Regions from separate parts of the Homo sapiens genome. Here region 2 is linked to region 1. Evidence: promoter capture Hi-C in human tissues and cell types (Jung and others, 2019). All regions are on one chromosome and are shown on one strand. The core of a region is centred on a gene start or on the middle of the fragment in contact, and the rest is flanking DNA. Distances in the headings are between cores, read along the strand shown. Region 1 holds the start of PRR16 (proline rich 16). Region 2 has its middle 30 kb from the start of FTMT.

The links. The method cuts DNA at HindIII sites, captures the fragments that hold promoters and counts their contacts. A contact is called where the count stands out against the background at its distance.
Region 2: a fragment that was not itself captured here is called in contact with the fragment with the promoter of PRR16 in region 1 in 1 of the 25 tissues and cell types used here (dorsolateral prefrontal cortex).

What each region holds. Positions count from the first base shown.
Region 1 is chr5:120,461,887-120,466,964 of GRCh38, reverse strand. It overlaps PRR16 (proline rich 16), which reads right to left and starts at 2,665. Exons shown (of 2, transcript NM_001300783.2): 1 at 2,320-2,665. The coding sequence starts at 2,478. RefSeq lists an enhancer at 1,790-2,291 and a silencer at 2,697-2,746. The HindIII fragment of the contact is 4,324 bases long and covers 821-5,078 here.
Region 2 is chr5:121,879,313-121,883,960 of GRCh38, reverse strand. No RefSeq gene overlaps it. Among named protein-coding and RNA genes, the nearest start is that of FTMT, 30 kb to the right of the region's middle. The HindIII fragment of the contact is 3,804 bases long and covers 1-3,218 here.

The DNA of each region.
Region 1 (5,078 bases), core at 1,416-3,915:
TTTGGGATTTGGCCATTGTAGGTACATTTTCTTGTGCAAATCTAGGATGATGATACCCACACAAAAGTAATTAACAATCACATCACATTATTTATGTCATAAATTTCAGTTTCATGGTGAGATTTTTACTCAAACAGATCCTTAAGACAAACAAATCTTCCAAAATGTTGAGTCAAAATTGTATCTCTAGATCTGTCAGATAGTTTCATCTACTGGGTTGTACATTATCTCTGCTTTTTATTCCTCTTATAAACAACCTTTTTTTTAACCTTAAAAAATCTTCAGTAATGAAGACACAGAAAGTGGTATCAACAGATTTCCTGACTTACATTTTTGTGATTCTAACCAATAACCACAGGGAGGTTGAAGATTTCACTACTTAATCTCTAAATGTCCATAAATAATGATGCAAAGCAAAACCAGGACCATGTGCAGTTTCTTGTCATTTATTCTGTGCAAAAAAAGTGAGTGGACTGACATTAAAACATAAGGAAGTATGGCTCACAGATGCAGAATTCTGTTTAACTACCTTTCTTTTAGTCTCAGCCTCATGAAAACAGTAAATACGTTTCTGTGCCGCTGTAGGTTTTCCACATCGCCCATAGAAACCTCACCAACTATTAAGCACAATTCTGCCGAAAGGAACATGCCCAATTTCATTTTTTAAAACGCCATGTTTCAGATGAAAACACAGTCTACCAAAGATGTCATATAAAAGAATAACAAAGAAAGGGACAGCATTTTTAGAATTGAATTTCAATGCATAACCCCACCATCTGTCAACCAGTTGTGAAGCAATAATCCTACAGAAACCCTGAAAACACGAACAAGTTTTATCCCTGAATCTATGTATACTAACAGCCACTCTCAGGACCTCAGTACTAATTATGTTCTGTCTGTGGAGTAACCTACAGGAACGACATTTACCACTGGCAAACTTAACCCTGGTGACGAATGGCCCATTTTAACAGACTTGCATTAGGTAACAAATGCAGAGTTCAGTTCATAGAGGTAACGGGGGAAGGGGAGGAAGACGAGGGGGCTCTTGAAATTTGGTTTGGAAATTGAATACAGGAGGTTAATCTCTAGAGGCCAGTCATCCAAACAACCCTCAGTCTCCTCCCCGTTGGCTTCAGAAACAGGATTACAATTTTGGACCTAGACTACGCCCCACCCCTTTTCCCGCTGCAGCCACCGCCACCTTCGAAGTTCTAGTCTTAGCTCTCACGCAGCGGAGCTGCGGACTCCCTCACCGAGAACCGCACCAGGACCCCATTCAGTAGTGAGCGGCGCGCTGGGACTCTGCTACCAGCTCCGCGACGCCGCCGGCAGCCAGCCTGGCTCGGGAGACCCCACCCCTCCCAGCCCGGCCCCCGCCCCCGCCCGGAGCCGCCGCCTGAGTTACGCAGCCTCAGCCCTGACACCTTCTCTGCTTCTTTCCATCTGGATCACCTGGGGCTAGGGGCGGGCGGGAGTAGGGCTGAACCGAAGTGGGATAGGAAAAGCGGGGAAGAACCGAAGCAGTCCCAGCTGCAGAGAGCCAGGACGCCAATGGCAAGACCCCGGCCACACATACACTCTCCTGCGCGTCCTGCTTCTCGGGTTCAATGCCAAGTGGCGACAGGGTGGAAGGAAGGAAGCAGAGGTAGGGTGGCGGGAAGGCCCAGAGTTACTGGTAACGACGTTCGGAGGAGAGCAGGGGATGCTTCAGAAACTGAGAAAGTGAGAAAGTCCCAGACCCCCTCCTTAGCCCCAAGGCTGCCAGCAGCCCGGGTCGCCTTCCCTACAGCGAGGCTCGAGAGACAGGGAGGGTAGTCTGAGCCAAGCTTCCTCCAGGCTGCCCTCCCTGATCTGGCCCAGGGCCCAGAACCCGGCCCCTCTTCAGCCCTGACTTGGGGAGGCTGACAGATAGGCAGCGGACTTGCCAAAGGACTCTGGGGAAGCAATAGGGCAGGAGAGGAGCATCTTGCACGCTCCAGCCGGGCTGCTCACGACTTCCTCTGCCGACACACCCCCAGCTAACCCTCTCCCCCGTCGTCACACACACAGATTCAGAGACACGCGTGCGTTCATCCCTCCCACCAGCCCAGGTCCATCGATTAAAACACTAGTTGATTTCTTCCTGATTAAAAAAAAAAATTAAAAAGTGCAACAACAACTCCTCTCAGGACTCCAGGAGCAAAGAAAGTCCGTCTGCAGGCGCCTTTTCTGTAGTTTCCCAGGAGTTTGGAAATCTGGCTGTCCCTGCTGAAAATCGGAAAGGGGACCCCGGAGGGGTCGAAGGGTGCCGAACTCCCTCCCCACCCCTGCGCCTCTCACCTCCTTAAGTTCCTTGGCCACGTCCTTCAGGTCGCCCAGGACTAATTCCAAATCCTCCACGATGATCTTGATCTGTTCCTTCACCTTGGTTTTGGAGGCTGCCGGCGGTCCCTCGGCTGGACAGGACGAGGAGGGGTTCCCCTTGGACTTGGCTGACATTCTTTGGGGGCAAGCGAGGCAGGTCAGGACAGGCGGGCGAGCGGAGGCTGCTGCGTGCCCCCGTCCCTGGCGCTGCTACGGCCGCTGCCGCCCCGGTCCCCCCACATCTTGGGCGCTCCCTGGGCAGCGGCGAGTGGCTGCGCTCCGCGCTCGGCCGGGCGGCCGCACAGTGGTGCTGCCATCAACTCCCGAGACGCGGCGCTCGGCTCGGGGCTGCAGACGGGCGAGCAGCGCGCCTGCGCCTCCTCCCGCCGCCGCCCGGCGCTCTCGCGCACACGCGCTCGCTCCCCGCCCGCGGAGAGGGGCGCCGTGCTGCCGCGCCAGGGTTGACGCTTGCAGTCCCCTCGACGTTGCCCTTCGAGATATCTCCCAGATGCCACCTTGGCATCAAGGTGGGGGAGACAAGTCCGTGTCCTGCCCGCCCCCTCCTCTTGGTTCTGAAATGTCCCCATCATCTCAGCCTGCTTGCTGTATGTCATCTCACAACTAGCCTGGATTCTTTCTGCTTCACTTGCTAGCAGGGACCTGGATCAATTCAGAAAGAACCACAGTGGGATCAGGAGTTGGAGACAGTCTGTAAAGTGGCCCTACAGATTTATCCAAACCCAAATGATGTCCAGAGGCCTTTAATCAATCTCTTGGTGACCTGCGAGTTAAGCAGACTTCTTAACTTCTGCAAGAAAAAAGGGGGGGGGGGGTGCACATAACAGCTAATGGTCATCTATTGAAACCATGAAATTCAACCAGTGTTCTTGAAAGAGGTACCCTAATCCTGCTAATTCCACAAAGCTAATACCGGATTTATTAATTTGAAGTCCCCACACCCCAAATCCTCTCTGATTGTCTCAGTCATCTTGGCTGTATGTCTTATTTGGCCCAACTCTTTTTTTTTTTTTTAACTGTCCTTCCTCTTTTTGTGACCTATGCTGATTTACATTTTGAGTGGAGTGGGGGAGACATCGTATTTGGACCTCGTGAAGGAGCTGAGTAAGAGATTGCCTCCAACTTCTCTTTCATCATTTTTTAAACCTCCATTTCAACTCTTTTGCTACTAAACAAATAGGAAACAACTTTCTGACTGTTCTGTCAAAAAGACCCAAGAAGGGAAGTTAATAGGAAGCCTTCGGTTCACTCTCAGTAGGTGTCTACAATTCTCATTAGCTAGAATTTTAACTTCCTTAGTTGTAAACCCATGGGCTATTAGCTACTGACCCAGCAGGCTGGCTCTACTTTATTTTCTTCACTGCACACTCCTCCAGATCATTCTTTTAATAGGCTTCCCCTTTTCGTCGTGCCTTAGCAAGGCTCTCTGTTTCTTGCTTCTCACACTCTGGGTAGCTCCACTGTGCTACACATAAAGAAAAGCTTGGCAGCTCTCCTCTTCCCAGTTCTGTAGGCTCTTAATCAATCACTCTCTTAATCCTGGACAATTCATCTTTACAAAACCTTTGGAAGTCATATGTGGAATATAGAGGAAGAAAGAGAACAGAAGAAAAAATTGAAATTTGAAAGTGGTGTCAAAAGAAAACCATTGAAAACTGCATTGAAAAATCAGGGGAAGAAATGAGAAAAGGTGAAAAGCAGATGCTGCTGGAAAGACTTAAGAAGAGATTATAAGAACAAGTCTGCAGCATGCAAACTGGAGAAAAGAAAAAGAGAAGAAATGATTAAAAGTGTGAAATAAGTAATATGCTTGAGTTCTCTGAGGTAGGGAGAATTAGATTTTTAAAACATCCTTTTTCTCCTCAAATTCTTTATTTTATAAAAAATATAACATTAAAATAATTATATCAGGTTTACAGACTCCCCAAAATTGTCAAAACTAGCAAAAGCTAATGGTAGGGGAAAAGAGAAAGTACTATTCTTCTAGATTGGAATTATTTTTGACTCTTAATAGTAGGCAAGTGTGTAAGAAAGCCGCCAAACTCAAAGTTAAGTGACTTTAGACAAGGATATGGGAGAGGAGGAAAGGAAATTGTGATTTCCCTCACAGTGACAAAATAATCCTCCCACAATATAAGAAGATGTCCATGCTACTCTGAATCTCATTCACTAAAGATTAAAAAAAAAAAAACAAAACAGGCTAGGCACAGTGGCTCATGCCTGTAATCCCAGCACTCTGGGAGGCCGAGATGGGTGGATCACAAGGTCAGGAGTTCAAGACCACCCTGGCCAAGATGGCAAAACCCCATCTCTATTAAAAATACAAAAATTAGCTGGGCATGGTGGCAGGAGCCTGTAATCCCAGCTACTCAGGAGGCTGAGGCAGAGAATTGCTTGAACCCGGGAGGTGGAGCTTGCAGTGAGCTGAGATCGTGCCAGTGCACTCCAGTCTGGGTGACAGAGCGAGATTCCGTCACAAAAACAAAACAAAAAAAACTGTTCTCTTCTGATACTCTGATATCCACTGCTGCTACTGAAACAAATAATTCTGACTTAAAATCAAATCATAATTATTGCTTAGAAACACACCACCCACACCCATATCACAGTTCACTCTGAAATAATCACTATCATCTATCTATCTATGTCTTTATACAATATAGAGTTAACTGAATAGGGAAAAGTTAAAATTGGCTTCCAGGCCCAAACTGAGAAAG
Region 2 (4,648 bases), core at 67-2,566, 1.4 Mb before region 1:
TATGTGTATTTTTTTCAATGATAGTACCATACTGTTTGATTGGTGTCATTTTGTAGCATATTTTGAAATCAGGAAGTACGATGCCTCTAGGTTTGTTTTCTTGCTTAAAATTGTTTTGGCTATTTGGTGTGACAGGTTAACTTGTAAGTTTCGAAGTTGTTGAAAAATCTCACATCCTTTATAGATACAAAAAGTTAGAACTGATTTCCTTTTACAGAGCCAAATGACACTGCAATGTAGATCCTCAGTTATTATGTATCAATGACATAAGACCACATTGGTTTTTGTCCCCCAGAAGTGTTACAGGTTTAATATTATTATAATAAATATAACAAGAACAAGTGCAATGATTTAAATTCTGCCGGTGGAAATATTCCTCCAAGGATAATTGCATGCTGATTATTTTGCTGTTCTTCTGTTAACTTTTAAGCATCATTTGCTCCTAACTTTCCATATATAGCTCTACTTTGTCATTTTCACCTCTTCACAATGCTTTTCCTTTCAAGGCTCTTAGCAGACAAATCCCAGGAACATTGCAGAAGCTAGATAAGGCTATAAATACCCAAAGTATTTGCAGGGGAAGCTTCATGAACAACGCTGTGGGGAATCAAGCAAATGGCAAGAGTGTTCTAAATGCAATACTTCTGATTTCAGTTGTCTGTTCTGTCTTTTCTTTATTGGGACTGATTTCCACCATCTTATTTAACTGGAGGCCATCTTAAGATGAACCCATGCTGAGTATTTTATTGAACAGTATATGAAGTTAAAAGAAAAAAAAATGCATGCTTAAATGCTGTGTGTGTGTGTGTGTGTGTGTGTGTGTGTGTGTGTGTGTATGTGTTGTGGACCCACATTGTGTTTCTGCACAATACAGTAGAAAGGCAAACTATGGAGTGAGATAATTCTAAGAGAATAATTCCAAGAGAAGCTTGGGATTATTTTCCCAACCTATAATCAGCATCTTTCTTCATAAAAGGAGTTCTTCATATACAAATGCATGCAAGCTACAGTTCTTTGCTCTTAGTTTTACCTGCATTATCAGTTGCTATGAAATGTTCACTAACATTTTTTAAGTAAGCCTGTGAATCAGGGAGTGGGCTAAAGCATTTTTTCTGGTCATTTGGTTCTGTGCCAATATCAATTTCCCTTTTCATCATTAATTTCTTGAAGACAGAGACTCTGCCTTATTTTTCTTTGCATCTCCACATTAGACTGCATCTGCTCTGGAACTTAGTGGGTGTTCAGTACATGTTTATTTGTTTGAATTAATGAAAAAAATTGAATTAAAGCATAGTAAATGGGCACATTTTCAGTGGAACTATTGTCAAGAGAGAATTAAGAGAATGATTTACTCTAGGCAGGATAATTCTGTTCATTTCAAATATCCAGCTGCATTTTGAAAATGGGGCTTTAATCATCTTCATTTGCTATTTTTGTAATCTTTTAATTATTCCTCATATAACAACTCAAATAAAGAAATAATTATAGCAAACACTTACTGAGAGCTTATCAAGTGCCAGATATTTTTCTAAGCACTCTCTTTTACCTCATTTAGCCATCAAAAAGCTAATAGAACTATTAATGTTATGTCTACTATGCAAATAAAAAATGGACTATAGGAAGAATAGGCTTAAGGCCACACTATCAGCGGTCAGAACAATCAAATGTCCAATGAAGACTGCTTGATTCTAGGCCAGTGTCTTAATCAATACTGCCTCTTAGGCAGCAGTAAATGTATTAAAGATGATCCACAATTTGCTGCAACTAGCAAGAAGATGTTAAGAAGCAACTGAAATGCAAACTATTTTGAAACATTTTCTGTTGCAGCAAACTAGAATTTTAGCCTTAAAAGCATTGCTTTTTTCTTTATCCTTGGCAAATATTTATTTCCCAGACCTTCTGACTGGAGCCCATCAGACATGGAAACTAGTAGGGAGGAAAAATACACTGTGCTTGACCTGAGATTAAAGTTTATAAAAACGATGCCTCATAACAAGTGTTCAATAAATGCTTTTCTGATAAACTAGGGATGATATTAAGATTCTTAATTATCATATCATTTTAAACTAATCTATAATTCTAGTTTACCAACTTTCTTAGATCATCGCCCCTTTTTAGAAATGTATATCCAGCTCCGTTATACTATAACATGGATTCTGCAGTAAATTCTGTTTCTTTTGTATGTTATTACAGTCAATTAGGTGACTAACAAACATTTTCTGAAGGTGATTCACTTTAGAGTAATTCTATAAGTATATATAACACAGGCTAATTCTTAGAGTGGTATTTTTAAAACAATTAGATTAAGAATAAAAAATCCCAGAGCCTTGTGTGATTTTTTAATAATATTATGTAAGAAAATGAATTTCTTCAAAATGATAACTCTCATTGGGTTCTTATAGTTTTTAATTTTTATATATCTGATGAAGCTCAATAATTTTTAGATAGGTAGAATGCCAATTTAAATTTCTTTTAAAAATTTCAACCAAAAATATGAAATAAATTGATATAAGCATATTTTGGATCATCCAGATAACCACTTATAACCAAGGACTCAAGTAGGACTTGACTGTTCACAGTTGGTATTTGCCTTGGCTGTGCTTCTCAATCTTCACTCTACTGACATTTTGGACTTGGTAATTCTTTGTCATGGGGCTCTATCCTTGCATTTAGGATGTTTAGCAGAATATCTGTCCTCTGTTTACTAGAAGCTAGTATTCCTTCTTCCATTTTGTAACAATCAAAATGTCTCTGTATGCTACCAAATGTCCCTTGTAGGGCAAAATTGCCCTCATAGAGAGTTGTGCCTTGGTGAATATAATGTGTTTAAGCTAAGGGGTAGTTTAAATGTAGAATAATATTAAAAGAACAGAGGCAGAGCTTCGTACATAAATGATGCATCTAATACCAAGTAAAGGCCCAATTACAAAACAGTGCACTGCACAATTGAACATTTTCCAATAGTTTTAATAGAGAAGTCTTAGAATACTTGAATCATCAGATATCACAGGATAGCGTAAGCATTCTGAACTAAGATGACAAACCAGTGTGTTAAGTATCATCTTTACATTTTGTTGCAGCAAAATAGCATAATTTACCACACTAAATTAATGTTAATTTGAATTTTATTGCTTTTATAATTTTGTTTGTATATATTTATTTTGGTTTTAGAATTGATGTTCTAACCATAAGCTCTAAGCATAAGGAGTTTATACTTAGCTTTGTGTTTATACATATTGGACAAACAATAATAAAAATAATTTGTCAATACTAGGAAGCCTCAAAGAGCATTTTTTTTTACATTGAAATAGATTAGTACATTTCTGAAACTTGAGAAACACTAAATTTAGGGCATCTGAGGCTGGGTAGAGGGAGGAACAGCAGGTAAATAGGAAGAGGAGATCCTTGAAAAATTCGGGGAAAACTCCAGAGTTAGCTGCTGGACTTCTACTGTATGATTTTAATTTGTGCCAGCTATATAAGAAAAAAATCAATATTCTTTTAACTAGGTTATTCTATATTTTTCTTTTTGATAAAAAATAGTTTATTTTTTGCTCTGTAAACTGCCATGTGGAAAGCATGCTTATCCAAGCAAGATAATTTCAATTTTGATTCCAACTGAAGACATAGGAACTAGGGATAGAATTAGATCAGTTTTCAGATAGTTTTCAAAATTTATTATGTCACATTGTATAAACAATATATGATCCTCTGTGATTTTAGAGCAAATGGAACAGCTTCCCAGGTTGCAAAGCAGGCTCCTTTTACCTGTTGTGTTCTCATTCACATTATCTGTTATTGTTACCTTATGCCTCTGTTGGATTGATCTGCTCAAAATAATTTTAGGACTCTATTGCCCTATGCACCAAAGGTGCTAAAAGACCCTCTCCTTCTGTCAGAGGCCTGTGAACCAGAGCAACTCCATCTTGAATAGGAGCTGGGTAAAATGAGGCTGAGACTTACTGGGCTGCATTCCCAGATGGTTAAGGCATACTAAGTTACCAGATGAGATAGGAAATTGGCACAAGATACAGGTTATAAAGACCTTGGTGATAAAACAGGTTGCAGTAAAGAAGCTGGGTAAATCCCACCAGAACCAAGATGGCCACAAGAGTGACCTTTTGTTGTCCTCACTACTACAGTCTCATCAGCGCCATGACAGTTTACAAATGCCATGGCAATGTCAGGAAGTTACCTTATATGGTCTAAAAAGGGGAGGCATAAATAATCCTTCCCTTGTTTGGCATATCATCAAGAAATAACCGTAAAAATGGGCAAACGGCAGCCCTCGGGGCTGCTCTGTCTATGGAGTATCCATTCGTTTATTCCTCTCTTTCTTAAACTTGCTTTCACTTTACGGACTTGCCCTGAATTCTTTCTTGTATGAGATCCAAGAACCCTCTCTTGGGGGTCTGGATAGGGACACCATTCCCGTAACACTTCCAGTTTTTAGACATATTCCTTTGCTTCTTTTTCCTCTCATTGTCTTTTATTGGAGGATATTTTGGAGTGTGGTCAGTAAAGTAAAAGATTGAAATTGGTCATAATTGCTTATTGTTTCAATGGTTGAAGTGGAAGAGCTGGAACCCATTTCTCTCCATCCCCAGAATAAGAAAGCTCTAGAATGACTGATTTATCTAACCCCAGG